Regions from separate parts of the Homo sapiens genome. Here region 2 is linked to region 1. The links are contacts of gene promoters, found by promoter capture Hi-C in human tissues and cell types (Jung and others, 2019). All regions are on one chromosome and are shown on one strand. The core of a region is centred on a gene start or on the middle of the fragment in contact, and the rest is flanking DNA. Distances in the headings are between cores, read along the strand shown. Region 1 holds the start of HCAR1 (hydroxycarboxylic acid receptor 1). Region 2 overlaps CLIP1 (CAP-Gly domain containing linker protein 1).

Region 1 (7,274 bases), core at 1,772-4,271:
ATTAAGGAGTTGAGAACCATGTTCACCACTTTGTAGCTTGAGAAAGGAGCTAGAGTTGGCCTGGAATGTTTCCCCCTAATTCAGGGCAGGGGCAGCTTGTCATTTCGTAGAGTCCTCTGTTTCGAGGGGTCCAGGTACACATTTGGGAAACTCATGTGTATGAGGGAGTCTTGCAATAAGAGGACAAAACTGATGTTCACACAGAATCGGTCTAGAAACTGTATTCCGTGAAAGGATGAAAGCTCTTAACTTCTCTGTCCCCACCCCCCCAAAAAACTTTACTGTCACATAAGAGTTGACTAATGACCCTCCACTAAAAATTACACAGTATACTGCCTGCCACCAAATACGAATTCAGTAAATACTTGGAAAATAAGTGAATAATTTCAATTCACAGTCACATGACAAGTTGTCAAAAGCAATTATAAAAGCAATTGTATTGGACTCAGCACATCCCACTGGAGAAGCCAGGGCAAGGAAACAGATCCCTCAGCACCTTCTTTGAAATACAAAGATTTGAAGAAGGTCAGAGCAGATTGTTTTGTTGTTGTTCTTCTTGGGCTACCAGGAAGTCACAATGATGACAGACGTACAGATGTACATTTGGACAAAATGTACAGATGTACAAAGAAATGTAAAGATGAAAATTGATAGATCAATAGATCCCAATCTAAAGAGCCTCATTCGGCCTGAAATAAAGCATTGATTGACTGAGCCCGGTTTCTGTTTTCTGAGATAAGGAATGATTTAAGGTCAGAGGATAGGAAATGCTGCTAACTGCCCCATAGCCCCTAAGAGAGTGAACATGCCCCATTCAAACACATATACCCATTTACTTAGCCATTTAAAATGACACAGGGGAGGCCAGGCACGGTGGCTCACGCCTGTGATCCCACCACTTTGGGAGGCCAAGGCAGGCGGATCACCTGAGGTCAGGAGCTCGAGACCAGCCTGGCCAACATGGCAAAACCCTGTCTCTACTAAAAATACAAAAATTAGCCGGGTGTGTTGGCTGGCGCCTCTAATCCCAGCTACTCGGGAGGCTGAGGCAGGAGAATTGCTTGAACCCGGGAGGCAGAGGTTGCAGTGAGCCGAGACTGTGCCACTGCACTCCAGCCTGGGACACAGAGTGAGACTCTGTCTCAAAACAAAAACAAACAACGAAAATTACACAAGGGCTGTGCAGTTCCTAGCCCCCCTCCCAACACACACATGCTCCACTCCATGCACATTCTGTCCCCTGCCATTGTGATCAGATAAGAAAATGCAGCCAACTCACTTCAATCAACTGGAACCTCCCCAAAAGGTATAGTTGTGTGAATTTCATTTCCGACAGAATGAGAAGGATGCAGTTCATGTGCGAGAAGCCGTCTTGCAATAAGAAAGGGGGGTGGCATTTTCAAAGCCCCCGACCCCTTAGCACGAGTTAATTCTAAGTCACCACTCTATCTTCCTCAGTGTTGTTGGTCTGCTTGTTCAGTGCCACTCAACAATGTGGGGATCCCATTGCCCATCAGACTGGCTTTGGAAACTATTTGCCACACTGATGCAACTCCTGCGACCGAGGTTCGAAATTGGCATCTCTTCCGGCCTTTGTGTTTTTGAGTGTCCTGGCTGCTTGGGTTTCAGACTGCAGATTTTGAGCTTGTTGTAGAATTTGGGAAAGGAGGGGCTTGAAAAATAATACACCAGGGGATCCAGCATGCTGTTCATGTAGGTGAAGCTGAGGGTTATGTGCAGGGCCCCATGGACAGAGGGATCGCAGGCACTCGAGGGCACCGTCCAGAGGAAATAGAGTCTAGCAGACACGCTGGGCAGGTAGCATGTGATGAACACAATTGCCACCACCATGATGAACCGGGTCGCCTTCTTCATCCGAGCCTGTCTGGCCAGCTGCTGCCTCCGCCTCAGGCTCCAAACAATCTTGAAGGAGCAAAATAAGATGATGCCGAGGGGCATAAAGAACTCCAGCTGGAACATGATGTCATGCCAGCCATTGGCCGACTCCATGATGAAGCTCTCACAGGAGACGGCCGTCTCTTGCACGCAGAGATGGTTCTCCAGCAAAAGATACACTGTTCCCAGGATGACCAGGGCCCACAGGGTGCAGACGATGCCAGCCGCCACCCGGGTGGAGATAGTGTTCACCGCGTGGTGGGGGTGGACCACTTTGAAATACCTGTCCGCAGCCACCACCGTAAGGAACACGATGCTCCCGGCCCTGTTCATGGCCAACGTGAAGAGCCCCACTCGGCAGGGAATGTCCCCAAAAGCCCAGTGTCTACGTCTGAGGTAATAGTCTGTCCGAAAAGGCAGGCAGATCATAAGGAGGAAATCAGCCACGGCCAAATTGAAAAGGTAAACAGTGCTGGGCTTCCAGGTCTTCATGTGGAAGCAGAAACCACACAGGGCGACCCCATTGCCTAGTGCGCCCAGCACAAAGGCCACAATGAGCAGCGGCGGCATCACCTGGGAGATGGTGTCCCCCTCGATGCGGCAGCACGACCCGTTGTACATGGCGGGGACAGAGCAAGTGTCCGGGTGCAGAGCAGCCCAGGGAGTCCCCACAATGGCACAGATGCTTATCTGAGCGTTAGCACTCACCCAGCTGCTGCGTGTCTGACTTCATCACCCAGGATGCGGGTCCTGTGTGTGTGGGTTGGATGCTGCCACAGCAGCGAGAAGAGAAACTTCAGCCAGGAAATGAGAGACCCAGGGAGGTCCTTTCTCTGGAGCCCGTCTCACAAGCCGCCTGCCTCTGGGAGAGGCCAAGCCTGGAGCCGGATGAAGCTTGGAAATGCATGCAATTTTGCAAAAGTGGTCATTTCTGAGAGGCGGTAGGGTGGGGGGGTCCGATGAGATTGATGCCGTAGAGGAGCGATTGGGTCCAGCGCCAGAGTAATTTTCATTTTCAGCTTCGCTGTTCCTCCTCGGACTCCGTGCTGGAGAGCACACAAAGCTGCCCAGAAGGCAAGAAGAAAGCTTGTTTGTCCTCCCTCCTGGTGGAGAAATCCAAACATTTCCTGGAGTGGTTCTGGGCTCCTGCCTTTGCTTTCCTCCCGTAACCTTTGCCTGACTGCCTTGTCCTCTCCCTCATCCCACGGGGCACTCCCATGCGGTGCCAGAGAGGGGAGGCTTTGCTCTGCAGCTCCTCCGGGCCATTTCCTGTGCCGAAAAATACCGCGCTCAAAAATTGGAGGAGTCTGCGGAGAGAAAAGTTCTAATCACGATACTTGATGGATGTTAGAAAAATTCTTTGACGGGAGTCACCTTTCCCCCGCTCTATTCCCACCTCCCTGCCCTTTACATCCTTCCGTGAACCAAAGTGGCCAGTTGCACAACCACCAAGACCATGAAATAGATCTGAAGCCCACTTCTCATATGTCTGTCTCCACAAAACGGCCTCTTTGGGAGCCGGTTTCCCCCTCTGCTGGGAAGCAGAGCCTAGAACTTTTACAAAGATTTGGCCCTGAGTTTCCATTGGCTGTTGAATGAGCCAAACACCATGAGATGTACGTTTTTAATTTCAATTATGTGCTGAGCCCATCAATTAAAACTGCCCCCTGGGGGCGGAAGAGGATTGGAGGAGTTGATTAAGGAGTCCATCTCTAAAGCAATCATGAGTAACATTAGACTGCACAAAAAATTGGAGTCTTTGCTAAAATTTCCTGTCCTTTGGCTTTAAGGATTATTAATCTGCCCTGTGCCTTTCAGCTTCCAGTTTAGAAAATGGGGTGGAGGCCGGGCGCGGTGGCTCACGCTTGTAATCCAAGCACTTTGGTAGGCCCAGGCGGGCGGATCACCAGGTCAGGAGATGGAGACCATCCTGGCTAACACGGTAAAACCCCGTCTCTACTAAAAATACAAAAAAATGAGCCAGGCGTGGTGGCGGGCGCCTGTAGTCCCAGCTACTCGGGAGGCTGAGGCAGGAGAATGGCGTGAACCCGGGAGGCAGAGCTTGCAGGGAGCCAAGATTGCGCCACTGCACTCCAGTCTGGGTGACAGAACCAGACTCCGTCTAAAACAAACAAACAAACAAACAAACAAAACAACAAGAAAAAGAAAAAGAAAAAAGAAAGAAAGAAGAAAATGGGGTGGAGGCCAGTCGCGGTGGCTCACATCTATAATCCCAGCACTTTGGGAGGCCGAGGCAGGTGGATGACTTGAGGTCAGGAGTACAAGACCAGCCTTGCCAACATGGTGAAACCCCATCTCTACTAAAAATATACAAAAATCAGTCAGGTGTTGTGGCATGTGTCTGTAATCCCAGTTACTCAGGAGGCTGAGGCAGGAGAATCACTTGAACCCGGGAGGTGGAGGTTGCAGTGAGCCGAGATCGTGCCAATGAACTCCAGCCTGGGTGACAGAAAGAAACTCTGTCTCAAAAAAAAAAAATGGGGCGGAAAAGAGGGGGTGCATTGAAAGAATGTGTCTGTCTTCTAGATGCACACTGAAGCTAAATTCTTCCCACTGGATGCTGGACTCCAAATCTGTCCACCCACATTCTCCCCTGCCTCGCCCTAGCACAGACCGCAGTCACTTCCCACCTGAACTGTTGAAACAGTTTCCTAACTGGTTTCCCTTCCTCTCATCTATTTCCTGTAAGTCATCTTCTACACAATAATCTGATTTTTCTGAAGCACAGATATTATCATATACCTTTTTTCACTTAAAAATCTTCACTAGCTCCCTTCAATCTGCCAAGGGGCTAGAATGATGGCCTGTGGACCATATCTGGTTTAAAAACCAGCCTGGCTTGGCCGATATGTTTTTAAAACCTGGTGCAGTCCTATAAAAACCTGGATTTCTGTTGTCTCTTAGAACACTGGAAGATCTGGCCACACTGGACCGACACTCCCACATGGAAACAATCAGCTGGAGCTTAGAGTAGATGGAGTAGAGACAGAGAATGAGCCCCTGTAGACAGAGAATGAGCTTTACTGTTTGCCACAGTCCCCACCACTCCCTATTGCCTTACACCTGGTTGGCTTTCCTCATTGGCAAGCCTAGTCTCTGTGGGATTTTGAGTTTGTCACCTCTTGCTCTAGGTTGAAGGTCACATTCCTTGGATTGACGTACAAGGTCCTTCACAGTTGGTTCCCAACCTACCTTTCCAGTATGATTTTCCTGCCACTTTCCTCCTTCCACCCTACTCGCTAGTCTCATAACCTCTAATAAATAAAAACGTGTTCGTCAAACGTCTATATCTAGTTCCCCCACAAATTCAGGAGTTCTTTGAAGACAAACTTCATACTCTTGGCCTGGATGACTAACTCCTACTTTTCTCCTTCTTTCTTTCCTTCCGTCTTTCTTTCTTTCTTTCTTTCTTTTCTTTCTTTCTCTCTCTCTCTTTCTCTCTGTCTCTCTCTCTCTCCCTCTCTGCCTCCCTCCCTCTCTCTCTTTCTTTTTTTTTTGAGACAGAGTCTGGCTCTGTTGTCCAGGCTGGAGTGCAGTGGCTCTGTCTTGGCTCACTGTAGCCTCAACCTCCCAGGCTCAAGCCATCCTCTTACCTTAGCTTCCTGAGTGGCTGGGACTACAGGTGCATGCTACCATGCCCAGCTAATTTTTGTATTTTTTGTAGAGACGGGGTTTTGCCATGTTGTCCAGGTCTCAAACTCCGGGGCTCAAGTGATCCACCCACCTTGACCTCTCAAATGTGCTGACATTACAGGTGTAAGCCACCATGCCAAGCCTAACTCCTACTTTTCATGAGAGCTCATTGTAACCACTTTCACTCTGTGGGCCTTTGTGATTCTGTGATAAGGTGTTAACTAACAGGGGTAACCATGGTAGGTTGAAACACCCCAAGATGAGGTCAGAGGGGTAACCCTGAGTACTTCACATGCTTAGCCTGGATTTTTTAACAAATGGAAAATATTCTTCATTCTACATTCTCAGATACTGTCGGGATTCTTGTAAACACAAATACTTCCTTTTTTTTCCACATGACTAACACCTGCCTTTCTTTTCTAAATCCTTTGTCTTGTCAAATCACCTTCTTCTCTCTCTTTTTTTTTTTTCTTTTTGTGGCTGTAGAATTAGCTGTAAGGCAGAGGATTAAGGAAGAAAAAAATGGCATCTATTCCTCTGAAAGTCTACTGGTTTTTTTGGTTTGTATGTTTTGAGACAGAGTCTGGCTCTGTCGCTAAGGCTGGAGTGCAGTGGCACAAATGTAGCTCCTTTCAGCCTGTGCTTCCCAGGCTCAAGTGATCCTCCCACCTCAGCCTCACAAGTTGCTGGGACCACAGGCACGTGCCACCATGCCTGGCTAATTTTTGTATATTTTGTAGAGACAAGGTCTCACCATACTGGTCAGGCTGGTCCTGAACTCCTGGGTTCAAGCGATCTGCCTGCCTCAGCCTCTCAAAGTGCTGGGATTACAGGCGTGAGCCACCGCACCCACCCCAAAAGCCTACTGGTTTTTCACGTACAATCTGATCTTATTCTACCCCAGGGCTTCAAGAAGATGCTGTCTCTCTCTTCTTGGACTTCCTGCTCAAGATCATGCTGTGGTGCCCTATTCCTTTGTGCACCAAATTTAGATCTATCTAGGCTCATGCCTGTAATCCCAGTACTTTGGGAGGCAGATCACTTGCGATCAGGAGTTCGAGACCAGCCTGCCCAACATGGTGAAACCCCAACTCTACTAAAACTACAAAAATTAGCCGGTCGTGGCCGGGAGTGGTGGCTCACTCCTATAATCCCAGCACTTTGGGAGGCGGAGGTGGGTGGATCACCTGAGGTCAGGAGTTCGAGACCAGCCTGGCCAACATGGTGAAAACCCTGTCTCTACTAAAAATACCAAAACTAGCCGGGTGTGGTGGCAGGTGCCTGTAATCCCAGCTACTTGGGGGGCTGAGGCAGGAGAATCGCTTGAACCTGGGAGGCGGAGGTTGCAGTGGGCCGAGATAGCGCCATTGCACTCCAGCCTAGGGGACAAGAGTGAGACTTTGTCTCAAAAAAAAAAAAAATTAGCCAGTCATGGTGGTGCATGCCTGTAGTCCCAGCTATTCCAGAGGCCGAGTCACAAGAATCGCTTGAACCCAGGAGGTGGAGGTTGCAGTGAGCCAAGATTGCACCACTGCACTCCAGCCTGGGCCACAGAGTGAGAATCTGTCTCAGAAAAAAAAAAAAAAAAAAAACAAAACTGGCCAGGCAGTGGCTCACACCTGTAATCCCAGCACTATGGGAGGCCGAGGAGGGCAGATCACCTGGAATCAGGAGTTCAAGACCAGTCTGGCCAACATGGTAAAACTCCATCTCTATTAAAAATA
Region 2 (7,274 bases), core at 2,501-5,000, 410 kb before region 1:
CTCGGTTTCCTGCAACTTCTGCCTCCTGGGCTCAAGCAATCCTCTCATCTCAGCCTCCTGAGCAGCTGGGACGATAGGCATGTGTCACCATGCCCAGCTAATTACTGTATTTTTTGTAGAGACAGGGTTTTGCCATGTTGCCCAGGCTGGTCTCGAACTCCTAGACTGAAGCCATCTGTCCACCTCAGCCTCCCAAAGTGCTGGGATTACAGGCGTGAGCCACTGCGCCCAGCCGAATTTCACTATTGCTCTTAAGCTTTTTCATAAAGTTTCTCCTTAGATTAAAAAATAAATCCTTTTTATTCACAGTTTGCAATTTTTTTCAAATGGGGAGAGACTACTACAGTGAGATACTTAGTAAAGAATCCCCCTTTCAGACTGTAACGAACAGCTTGAGACATATAAGCAACTGACTTAATGAGGTGGATTTCCATAAGCAGAAATGAAGAAAGATGACCTACACCACTTGAGTTAGTGCACAGTGTTAGTAAGCAGTCTGGGTGCTCAATACTTGACCCTCTCACTTTACCGTAAATGACTGAAGAGTCTCGAGCTCTCTAATTTTAAGAGTAAGCTTGTTCTTGTCTTTTCTCAAAGTACGGTTTTCATTTTGAGATTCTAGGAGATTGGCTGAAATATGGCTGTTGGTTTTGGCCAACTGGCTGATCTCTTTCTGAAGGATGAAGTAGCTTTCTGCCAGGGTTTCCTTCTCCTTCAGGAGCTCATCCTTTTCCAGCATCATTTCGCTCTTCTCAGCCAGGAGGTTCTGGTTGTCTTGCATCACCTGGGCTTTTTCGGCCAGGGTCACCTCATGGTTCCGCTGAAGGTCATCCAGAATCTTGGTGAGGCAGCTGTGCAGTTCCTGCAGCTCTGCCTTGGATTTGGACAAGGCAGCAAAATCACTTTTCAGAGTCTTTATATGGGCAGCAAGTTGAGCTGCTTCTGCAGTCAACAGTTCCTTCTCCTCGATTATCTCTGCCAGTTCTTGCTCTGATTTGCTCTTCTCTTGAAGTAGCACAAACTTCTCGGACTGCAGCTCCTCGATACACACTCTTAACTCCTCCACCTCCTGCTCCAGGAGCACCATCCTCCCGTGAAGTTGATTGTTTTCGTACAAGGATGACTCGCTCTCCTTTGCTCTGGCTTCCTGTTCCAGGATTAAGGACTGCTGCATTTCCTGGATCTCCTTGCTTAATTTGTGACACTCTTCTTGCAGGTTCAAGCCATCTCTCAGCAAAATGTTCTTCTCGGAACAACACGTGTTAAGTTGAGCATCCAAACTCTCCTTTGCTTGCAATATGTGAGTGTGTTCTTTTTCCAGATTCTTTTTGGTATTTTGAGCCTCTTTCAGCATCAAAGAGAGGTCGCACTTGCTGGCCACTAGTTCTTGGTTTTCCTTTTTTCTCTCTTGAAGCTCCTTCTTCAGAGCATCAATATTACCGAGGAGTTTCATATTCTCTTGCACAACTAAACTTCTGTTTGCAGACTCTTGATCACATTGCCTTTTGAGGTCTCCTATGGCTTTGATGGAATTCTCTCTCTCTGCAAGTAAAGCTCCATTTTGCGTTTCCAGTGAGGATTTTTCTTTCAAGAGACTATCCTGCTGCTTTTTAAGTTCAGTCATTTTCTGAGAAGCCATCTCCTTCTCGGAAGTCAGGTAAGTGATCTTCTCATTCAGGCTCATCTCAGTATGGGCAGCCTCTTCTAAGCATTTGTGGAGTTTTTCAGTGATTATTCTATTTTCACTTAAAAGTTCCTCTTTCTCAGCCAAGAGCCTTCTCTCGGAGGCAGCCAAGGTTTCTTTCTCATGCAGAAGCTGGATGCACTCGGAGTCCGTGACCGCCCGCCTGGCCTTAATTTCCTCCAAGAGCTTCGTGAGGCTTGTGTTTGCGGCCTCGAGTTGCACGGTCTCCAGCTCTGCCTTCCTCAGGGCCTTGCTGGCATCATCCAGCTGTGCGCGGAGCCCACTGGCTTCTGAGCGGAGCAGCTGTTTGACCTGGAGAGCGGCCTGGAGGCTGGCATTCAGCTTTTCCTGATCTTGAAGCAGCATGTCCGTCTCTAACTGCAGATTTCTGTTGTTCTGAAGAACATTATCTCGTTCTACCTTTAAGGCTATGCACGTGTTATCGAGATTGGACAATTTCTCTAAAGCTGACTTTTTCTCAGCTGTGAGATCTTCAGTCTCCTGTACCAAAGCTTTCTGATCTTTGACTAGCTCCTCATAAGACCTTTGAAGCTTCTGAATGATGTCATCCTTATCTTTGGCCAAGATGAAGTTTTCGGTAATAAGTTTCTTGATCTGGTCCTCCAGGTGATCTTTTTCTTCCTGGTCCTTCTCAGTCTTAGCAATCAAAGTATCTTTGCTGAGCTGGAGCTCTTCAATGAGTGCCTGCATGCTCACCTTGGAAGCTTGCAAAGAGTCATTTTCCACATTTATCTTCAAGAGTTCTTCCTGTACAACATTGATTTCTTTAAGCAATTTCTCTCTCTCAACAGCCAAAGCTTCTTTATTGAGATGTTCCTGCTCATAATACTTTTCGGCATCTTGCTTTTCTTCTAAGAATTTCTCCTTTTCTAAATTAAGAGTTTCATTCACTGACCACAGTTTCTGCTGGTCTCCCTGAAGTAAAGCTATTTTGGCCTCCAATTCTACAAGCTTGGATAAAAGTGAACCGTTTTCTAACTTTAAATCATTTCCCTCCTGAGAAAGAAGCTGCTTCTCTGATTTCAGACCCCTCAGCTCTTCTGACATTAGTTCAATTTCTTTTTTGGCTGATGTTAACAAATAAGTTAGCGACTACAGAAACAAAAGATGGAAAGAATGGAAACAAAAATGAAATCAAGCAGACAAATGCAAGCCCAAATAACTTAATGTAACCTAAATGATAAAAACTTTACAATTTCTACAATAAACTTTATAGAAACTATCTGAATAACAAGGGAAAGAAACTAAACAGAGCCCATAAAAAGGTAAGTCAAAAGTGTAGTTTTGCAAAGTGCTTCTGTATCTGTTAGCTTATTTTATCTTTGAAACAACTTGTGAAATTATTCCCAGTAGCTACCTAGAAGATAAAAATAGTAGCTTGATTTTAATATCAGGGCATAAGATTCTTTCCTGCCATTCCAATTATCAAATTACTTTGAAAGCAGAAAGGATTCATAGAACAATTTTTAAAAATACAATTAAAAGAAGTACAAAAACTCAGTATATTTTAATGAAAAAAGGAAGGGGCATAACAAGGGAAAATAAACTACTGCCTTCCAAACTCACCACAGGACCTTACTTAAGGGTAGCTGAGGGGCTGAGAGTGATTTAGTCCCAATATCACATATAACTTAAAAACTACAGCCTAATTTCTAGGCTTTGCTGACTAAAAGGAATAGTTTTTTTTTTTTATTTACTGAATTATAAGATAATTTGACCACAGTGTCTATACCAGTGCTATCCAGAACTTTCTGCAATGATATAATTTTTTTTTTTTTTTTTTGAGACTGAGTCTCGCTCTATCTATTGCCCAGGCTGGAGTGCAATGGTGCGATCTTGGCTCACTGCAACCTCCGCCTCTGGGTTCAAGCTATTCTCATGCCTCAGCCTCCCAAGTAGCTGGGATTACAAGGCTCCGCCACCGTGCCCGGCTAATTTTTGTATTTTTAGTAGAGACGGGGTTTCACCATGTTGGCCAGGCTGGTCTCAAACTCCTGACCCCAAGTGATCCACCCACCTAGGCCTCCCGAAGTGCTGGGATTACAGGCATGAGCCACCACGCCCAGCTGATATAAATGTTCTTATTTGCACTCCCATCATGGTGACCATATGACTACTGAGCACCTGAAATGTGGTGAGTGCAACTGAGGAGCTAAATTTTTAATTAAAATGTAACAAATTTAAATTTATTTATTTATTTATTTATTTTGGAGGCAGAGTCTCACTCTGTGGCCCAGGCTGGAGGGAAGTGGCGCGATCTCGGCTCACTGCAACCTCTGCCTCCCAGTTTCAAGCGATCCTCTTTTAAGCATATACAAAAATAGAGAAAATAATGTAGACCGCATATATTCCCATATTAAGGTTTTTATTTTTATTTATTTTTTGAGACAGTCTCACTCTGTCACCCAGGCCAGAGTGCAGTGGCACCATCTCAGCTCACTGCAGCCTCCGCCTCCCAGGCTCAAAGGATTCTCCTGCCTCAGCCTCCTGAGTAGCTGGGACTACAGGTGTGTGCCACCACACCCAATTAATTTTTTGTATTTGTAGTAGAGACGGTCTCACGATGTTGTCCAGGGTGGTCTCAAACTCCTGTGCTCAGGCAATCTGCCCACCTTGGCCTCCCAAAGTGCTAGGATTACAGGCGTGAGCCACCAGAACTGGCTACAAATTTACATTTGAATGGCCTCACATGGCTGGTGGCTACTACATTAGGCAGCACAGCTATAGCCCACTGGCTCTTAAAAGTAGGGAATAGGAGGCTTCATGGGTTCCAGGAACCTTGTTGAGTGCACACGTAAACTTTCCTGAAAAAATATCTGTAGATTTCATTAGATTATTCCAAAGAGTCTGGGACTGATTACGATCCACTGAAATTAGATACTAGACACGTTTGGAGGGGAACAGTCCTGGCATTTTTAACTCAATGACTCTTGCACAAAACCAACCAACAAAATCAGTGAGACTGGCCAGGAATGGTGGCTCATGCCTGCAATCCCAGCACCTTGTGAGACTGGCCAGGAATGGTGGCTCACGCCTGCAACCCCAGCGCCTTGTGAGACTGGCCAGGAATGGTGGCTCACGCCTGCAACCCCAGCGCCTTGTGAGACTGGCCAGGAACGATGAATCACGCCTGCAATCCCAGCACCTTGGGAAGCTGAAGCAGGTGGATCGCTTGCATCCAGGGGTTCGAGACCAGCCTGAGCAACATAGCGAGACTCTGTCTCTACAAAAAATAAAAAATTAGCCAGGTGTAGTGGCACGTGCTTTTAGTCTCAGCTACTTGGGAAGCTGAGGCAAGGGGATCACTTGAGCCCGAGAGGTTGAGGCTGCAGTGAGCCATGACTGTGCCGCTGCACTCAGCCTGGGTGACAGAGTGAGACCTTGTCTCAAAAAAACAAACAACAACCGAGGAGACCTTACATCAGCTTCTGCGATGCTGTGGTTTGCTCAGGCTGAAACATTTTAAAGGAAATACAAAAAAAAAACTGAAGTCTGCACAGATAAAGGAAACCACAAAGACAAAAGATCTGGGAATTGTATCTAGTGTTAAATGGCTCATAAAACTGGAGGTATTTCACAGAAAGAAGAGAAATCCTCAACTATCAGCATGTAGAAGAGGGAGAATATGGGCCTCCCAGATGACATGCACGGCACACACATACCATGTCATGTCCACTTAGTTAGCAAGAGGCTTTTCATGAGATTGGTTTCAAGTCCTATATATGCTCTTTTATCATTTCTTTCTACTAAACTCCTATAAACACATTAAAAATAAAGAAAGGTGAATATTTACTTTCCTTTGAGCAATAGAAGGTTAAACAGTGGGCAAGGTTGAACTTCGTGAAGTTACCAGAGTCACAAAATGTACTGGGCAGGCCAGGCATGGTGGCTCACACCTGTAATCCCAACACTTTAAGAGGCCAAGATGGGAGGACTGCTTGAGCCCAGGAGTTTGAGACCAGCCTGGGCAACACAGCAAGACCCCATTCTCTACAAAAAAAAGAAAAAATATATATTGGGCACAGATACAATCCTAAAACCATAAAATGAAATCCAACATATCAAATTCTGCTCTATCTACTAACAAGGTGTTTCCTCCCTGCCCTTGAATCCAGCTTCCTTGTCAATAAGCTCACAGTACCTTCCTGGGGACACATAAAGCCCTCTGTGGAGTTCTCAATTCTAACTCTTCCTAGAAGAGCTCTGTTCCTCCAACCAGGCTCTCTCTAGTCCTGATTCCTTGCTTGCTTACTTCATGTGACCTCTGCCTCTTGCTTTATCGCAACATCTCTCCAAACCCTAGTGCAAGGCAGCAACAAGCACGGCCAAGATTAGAGGAACAAGCAGGCAAGCAGAGCTCAGGCAACGAAAGAACCTTTGTGACCTCTGGGAAACAAGCAGCACAGGGGTGATGGCTACACAGTCCATTCCAGGAAAGACTGGCAGGAAACACCGTCCGAGAAGGAACAGCAGCTGGCACAAAACACTTGAAGCCATAGGAAATGTAATGTACCACCCTGCCACGCACTCAGAAGGGTAACGTCTGTAGAGGCCACCTTAACTTTTCCCACTGGCTGCTGCTTTCTAAGCACCCTTCCTGCCTCGACACAGAGCTCAGGCAAGCTACAACACAAGGAAATTCTCTCGCGTCACGTACTTTGGCTTTGTCGGCTTGCTTTCTCAGCTCCTCCAGCTCCTGCAGCAAGCCACTGTTCTCCTCCCGTGCGCCCTTCAGCTTGTCCTCTGTGTCCAGCAGCGTCTTCTGGAGGTTCTGTAGGATTTCTTCATGCTTGGTTTTTGTCTCAGAAGTGGCTCTCTCATACCTGGCTTTCAGCTCCTGACACTGGTTGTGGCTTGTTTCCATTTTCTTTTCCTGCAGAGACCCCGAATGAGGGAATGAGTCATCTGCCCATGCGTGTACTATCCCTTGCCTTCCTTGCCAGCCAACAGGCCCACTGAGTATCTCCTTACCAGGTCCGACAATTTCCTCTCCAATTCTTTCTTTTCTTCCTCATGCTTTTTAGCTGCTTCTTGCTGGCTCTGTTCAGCTTTGACAGTCATGTCCTCAATACTTTTTTGCAGAAAACTTGCATTTTCATTAGCCTTTGTAAGTTTTAGCTGTAATTCTTCTACATCTCTAGAAAAAGTTTCAATATAAGGTGTCAGATTTTTCATAAGAATGTTTTAAATTTAAGTTATATTAAAATATACTATTAATAATTGTAATTATTTTCAAAAGTTATGTGTAATTAATAACATCAGAACTAGGCAAGAAATTTTGTTTTGTTTTGTTTTGTTTTGTTTTGTTTTGGGGGGGCGGAGTCTCGCTCTGTCGCACAGGCTGGAGTGCAGTGGCATGATCTCCGCTCACTGCAAGCTCCGCCTCCCGGGTTCATGCCATTCTGCCTCAGCCTCCCCAGTAGCTGGGACTACAGGCACCTGCCAGCACGCCTGGCTACTTTTTTGTATTTTTAGTAGAGACAGGGTTTCACCGTGTTAGCCAGGATGGTCTCGATCTCCTGGCCTCGTGATTCGCCTGCCTCGGCCTCCCAAAGTGTTAGGATTACAG

What was found. The method cuts DNA at HindIII sites, captures the fragments that hold promoters and counts their contacts. A contact is called where the count stands out against the background at its distance.
Region 2: a fragment that was not itself captured here is called in contact with the fragment with the promoter of HCAR1 in region 1 in 9 of the 25 tissues and cell types used here (IMR-90 fibroblasts, bladder, dorsolateral prefrontal cortex and 6 more).

Annotation. Positions count from the first base shown.
Region 1 is chr12:122,727,823-122,735,096 of GRCh38, forward strand. It overlaps HCAR1 (hydroxycarboxylic acid receptor 1), which reads right to left and starts at 3,022. Exons shown (of 1, transcript NM_032554.4): 1 at 1-3,022. The coding sequence starts at 2,517. The coding sequence ends at 1,477. RefSeq lists enhancers at 1,784-2,451, 6,296-6,795. The HindIII fragment of the contact is 12,382 bases long and covers 1-7,274 here.
Region 2 is chr12:122,321,585-122,328,858 of GRCh38, forward strand. It overlaps CLIP1 (CAP-Gly domain containing linker protein 1), which reads right to left. Exons shown (of 26, transcript NM_001247997.2): 16 at 6,677-6,842; 17 at 6,363-6,578. It also overlaps the pseudogene CCDC150P1. Among named protein-coding and RNA genes, the nearest start is that of VPS33A, 59 kb to the left of the region's middle. The HindIII fragment of the contact is 8,257 bases long and covers 1-7,274 here.